Regions from separate parts of the Homo sapiens genome. Here region 2 is linked to region 1. Evidence: promoter capture Hi-C in human tissues and cell types (Jung and others, 2019). All regions are on one chromosome and are shown on one strand. Each heading gives the region's core, a stretch centred on a gene start or on the middle of the fragment in contact. The rest is flanking DNA. Distances are from core to core; before and after follow the strand shown. Region 1 holds the start of PTTG2 (pituitary tumor-transforming 2). Region 2 has its middle 29 kb from the start of PGM2.

Region 1 (2,700 bases), core at 142-2,641:
TCAGTTGATATACCAGGTCCAAGTCATGGCTCTGTCACTTTCTAGCTAGCTGTGTCAGGTTAAGAGCAAGACTTCTAATGATACCTTTGAATGGCCCTTTGTATTTGAGGTGGCCTTATGCAAATAAACAGGCACAGTTGACCCTTGAACAATGTGAGGGTTAGGGGCGCCAATCACCTGCATAGTCGAAAATCCACCTATAACCTTTGACTCCCAAAAAGCTTAACCGATAGTCTTCCGTTGACCTCACCAATAACACAGTCGACTAACATATATTTCGTATGTTTTATGCACTATATCCTGTATTCTCACAATAAAGTAAGCTGAAGAAAATGTTATTAAGAAAAATCATAAGGAAGAGAACATATTGCATTATTCATTAAGTAGAAATAGATCATCATACAGGTCTTCACCCTCATTGTCTTCACGTTGAATAGGCTGAGGAGGAGGAGGAAGAGGAGGGGTTGGTCTTGCAGTCTCAGAGGTGGCAGCCGCAGAAGAAAATCTGAGAACAAGTGGATCCATGCGACTCAATCCTGTATTGTTCAAGACTCAACTGTATATTTTTGCATATGGGCTCAAATACGTACGCACATATGTCACTGGGTCAAAGATTCATAGAATGAATTAGACAACAAGAATATTTATCATTGAATTGAAATGGCTCACTGCAAAAGTGCCCTCAACTTATCTCTAGGCCTTAGAAACAGAAGTGACCCTTTGCTGCTGTGAATCAATAGCCTGGACTAGATTGGGGTTGGGTTGGCAAAGGTATATAGTCATTGCCATAGTCCAGTATTCCTGCCCAAGCAAGCACCATTAGTAGTCACGTTGCTCAGAGAGGGCCTCTCGGCTCTCCCCACCACTGCATGCTGGATTGTCTGCCACCAGTAGATCAGAGTTGGCAAAAGGGATAACTCGGGATGAAACATTTGAGCATTTTGCAGTTTAGAGAAACTTCAGGGGTGCTGCTTTAGTAAAAAATGGAAGACTTGCATTTATTAAAGGTTAGTAAGAAGTGAAATAATGTATGCAAAAGTACATTATAAATTAGAAAATGCAATAACGGCAGAAACTATTTATTTATTGGTTGCTCTGCCCTTTACCTAAGTGGTTTTTGACCATTTAACAATGTGTAAGAGTTGGGTTTTACCTCCATTTTATGGATGTGGAAATAGGGCTTGGATGTTAGCTAACTTGCCCAAATCTTACAGCTAACAGAAAGTGGTACTCCCGAGATTCCTACCCAGGTTTGTCTGACCTCAGGCCTGTGCTCTTTATATGAGTTCATGCTAACTCTCAGATGATGTGCTAGGCACAAAAATTAGATATTACACCAATTTCCACTATAGTTAACATTCTATCTAAATATAAAGTGGGACCACGGTCTTAGATGAATGTGGCTGTTGAGAGCGGCAATAATCCAGAATGGCTACTCTGATCTACGTTGATAAGGAAATTGGAGAACCAGGCACCCGTGTGGCTGCCAAGGATGTGCTGAAGCTGGAGTCTAGACCTTCAATCAAAGCATTAGATGGGATATCTCAAGTTTTAACACGACGTTTTGGCAAAACATACGATGCTCCATCAGCCTTACCTAAAGCTACCAGAAAGGCTTTGGGCACTGTCAACAGAGCTACAGAAAAGTCAGTAAAGACCAATGGACCCAGAAAACAAAAACAGCCAAGCTTTTCTGCCAAAAAGATGACCGAGAAGACTGTTAAAACAAAAAGTTCTGTTCCTGCCTCAGATGACGCCTATCCAGAAATAGAAAAATTCTTTCCCTTCAATCTTCTAGACTTTGAGAGTTTTGACCTGCCTGAAGAGCGCCAGATTGCACACCTCCCCTTGAGTGGAGTGCCTCTCATGATCCTTGATGAGGAGGGAGAGCTTGAAAAGCTGTTTCAGCTGGGCCCCCCTTCACCTGTGAAAATGCCCTCTCCACCATGGGAATGCAATCTGTTTGCAGTCTCCTTCAAGCATTCTGTCGACCCTGGATGTTGAATTGCCAGCTGTTTGCTATGACATAGATATTTAAATTTCTTAGTGCTTTGGAGTTTGTGTGTACTTGTATTAATAAAGCATTATTTGTTTAACAACATAATAAATACATAAATATAAAGTGGGTCATATTCCTCTTTATGTGCATCTGTCTCAGCTGTCCCTTGTTTCTATATTTCTTCCATACTACAGCCCGTACTCTTTGGGGATATGTCAACATGATTTACTTCTGTAGAGAAACAGGAGACAGGAAATAGCAAAGGATAAAGGAGAAAAGGCCAGGGCCAGGCCAAGAACTTCTACATCTTTTCTTCCCAGCCTAGTGTGAACCAGATGAAAGCCTTAAGGAGGTCCTAGCAGCAAAGGGAGATAATTAAAAGAATGAGAATTTTGTGGAATGCTAAAAAAAAATAGGGAACATATTTGCAGCTAGGACTAACACTGATTATCTTAAAATGTCTATATGGCTAAATAATGTTCATGAAATCCCGTATCTTATTCTGCTAATGTCTTACAACTTAAAGCACTTTTATGTCCATGCCTTGAATTCTGTACAAAGCTTTGATAGAGTCACAGATGTCTGGTGTCAATCCAGATCACCTGAGAGGCTTCAGGGTTTCCTCTCTGGTTCCTGAATTCCAAGACTTAGTGAGTTTCCTAGGCCAGGAGCTGCTATTCATTATACATGTTAGTGGTTTT
Region 2 (2,700 bases), core at 130-2,629, 160 kb before region 1:
AATGTGGGAATGCAAGTTTTAGTGCAATTCAACAGCTATCAAGGAAAAGGTCAAGGAGGTCTAGGATAAGGGGCGGCAGGCAAGCGGGCATCAGTGGAGGCCCTTTGACTTTTTGAAGAGCTTCAGAAACAACACTATAGCCTGGAAAGGCTGATCTACACTGGAAGACATGGTAGCTCCTGGCAAGGAATGACCCCAGCCGAGAAGAGCAACTGCTAATGCGTGATGAAGGATGGATGAGGCCTGGGATGCAATGGGCTCATAAAGCACTGACTACCTGGAGTCCGTGAGAGCTCTCATTTCCAGTAGGAAGTTTCACTGTCTCCAGGGCAAATGAAGGATATGTGGACATTATACATTTTTTAAAAAATTTAAGTGCAAGCATTTTTGTTCTCCCCATTTATTTGTTCATTCATTCGTTTATTCAACTAACATCCATTATGTGTTCTTTGCTGCACGCTGAAGATACAAAAAGCATTAAGAAAGGAACTCTGTTTGTAAGAATCTCACAGTTCCTTAGGAGCTGGGTGTGGGATGTTCTTTGCCCCTCTAGATCTATTCTCTGCCCTTCGCCACCTTGCCCAGTGGCTCCTGGAAGCTGACTTTTCTGGAAAGTATCAACAGGGCTCCCTTGCCTTCCAGCTTCAGTTGGGCTCAGCCACTAGGAAGCACAAGAGGAGAGGAAGGGTAGCAGGAGAGGAAGGGCGGCAGAAGAGGAAAGTGAAGCATTGCCCTGGCTTCCTTCATGCCTGCTAAGGCTTAACAATGGCTGCACTTCCCTAAAGCCACAACTGCTGAGAAGCAGCCTGCTTCCAGAACTACAACCAGCTCTTCTGTTCCTGGCTTTTCCAGGCCCAGGGCTGACAGTGGCCCCCCACAGTGTAGCCTGGAAGTGCTTTATCACTCTTGGTTCTCCTTGACCTCTACATGGCCCCTCCATTAAGCTTTCTTTCATTTATTTCCTGTATGATGACATAACAAGGTTAGCTGGGCAATAAGCAAATATCCTATAGTGTCAAGTGTACAATGAGGGCAAGAAAGGATTAATCAGTCCTAACTGGGGGGGGGGGGGTCAGGTGAGGCTGTGGTCTATAAAGTCCTGTCCCTATTCACCCTTTCAATTGCATGCTGAAGTTTCTCTAAGAACATGAAATCAATCACGTTATCTTCCAGCAATGGCAGTGGAAAAATCTGATGACAACCCCAGGAAGAAAGTTCAATGGCCATGTGATTGACTATATAATGATGTTCCATTTATCTAAAAATAGTACTTTGCTTAACTTACACTAACGCACCTTACAGTTATGAGACACTACCTACTTAAAATAGCATACAGTGAAAGTAGACCTAATCTACCTCCTAGTTGAGTAGTAACAAAAATGTCTAACAGTTACTGAGTTCTCAACTAAACCTATAGTATTAATATGATAATTATGTATGGAATTATGCATATAGATATTATGTATAGAAGTGTGTCTACTAATTTCTTACAATGCCACCACAGAATAATAGTATTATTCCCATTTTATAGCAGAAGAAACTGAGGCTTAGAGAGAATTTAGTGACTTGCTCAAAGTCATAAAGCTAGTAAGTGGCAGAGCTGGGATTGTAATCCCATCTATCTCCATTATTAACCACTATGCTCCCTAATAAAAAAAAATTCTCATATCATGTGTTAGCTAAGGTAACATAGGATGCATTAACAGATAAACCCCCAAATGTCAGCGATTTACCATAACATTTATCTCTCACTCATATCAAGTCCAGTTGGTAGTGGTTCATGTGGGAAGAGTCCACTCTAGCTCAACAGTTCAAGACCCAGGTAGACAGAGGCTCTGACCTCTTCAACATGTACCTCCCATGTTGTCCTGAGTGCTAAAGTCCAGCCAGCAGAAAGAAGAGAGAGAGAAAGAAGATTTTTATGATTCAGGGGTGGAAATTCCAGACATAAATTCTACCCTTATTCCATTAGACAGGAATCCATTGTATGATTGGGAAATCAAGTCTAGCTGAGTGTCTAAAAGGAAAGAGAAAGGATTTGATAGACAGCAAGACTCACACTGCTTCCAATTATAACTCCCCAATTGTTCTCAGGTGACAGGAGGCTCTGTCTCAACCTGATGACCAGAGAATGAGATGAAGATCAAGTGGATTCCACAATATTTAGTTTTTGCTGTCAATATCATGTCAGTCAGGAGAACAGATAACACTCTAGGTCTTTCAAACAATGAAAATTTAATAAAAGGAATTTATACAAGGACTGAGAAGCCAAATAGGGAACTGCAAGACTACCCAGAGATTAGAGATACAGGAGGCCAGCACCATCCCCAGGAATTGAAGGTCACTAGGATGAAGTGGTGTCATCAGAGTCCCAAAGCTGGGGCTTTTCTAGTGGGAGATGCCCAGAAGGAGGGACGGGCTATTGGGCAGGGGGTGAAGCCACAAAGGAGACCCAACTACCAAAGAGGGAGGGAGAGAGAGAAAGAGGGACTCTCTTCCTCATTGCCCCAAGTCTTCCTTTAGAGCCTCATTTTGGCTTGTAAATTAAAAACAAAATTCTAAGTACCCCAACCAACTGAATGTACCCCTCTTGGCCAAGGAAACTCCAGAGAAACTGGTTTCCCAGCCATGATGAAACAGACACACCTCATTATACCTTTTCTAATTATGGAGAATTTCTGTAATGAGATTCTGTTGGGA

Evidence for each region. The method cuts DNA at HindIII sites, captures the fragments that hold promoters and counts their contacts. A contact is called where the count stands out against the background at its distance.
Region 2: a contact is called between a fragment that was not itself captured here and the fragment with the promoter of PTTG2 in region 1, in 1 of the 25 tissues and cell types used here (spleen).

The regions. Positions count from the first base shown.
Region 1 is chr4:37,959,007-37,961,706 of GRCh38, forward strand. It overlaps PTTG2 (pituitary tumor-transforming 2), which reads left to right and starts at 1,392. Exons shown (of 1, transcript NM_006607.3): 1 at 1,392-2,122. The coding sequence starts at 1,429. The coding sequence ends at 2,004. All of the region lies in intron 2 of TBC1D1 (TBC1 domain family member 1), which reads left to right. The HindIII fragment of the contact is 2,532 bases long and covers 1-2,124 here.
Region 2 is chr4:37,796,825-37,799,524 of GRCh38, forward strand. No RefSeq gene overlaps it. Among named protein-coding and RNA genes, the nearest start is that of PGM2, 29 kb to the right of the region's middle. The HindIII fragment of the contact is 3,117 bases long and covers 1-2,700 here.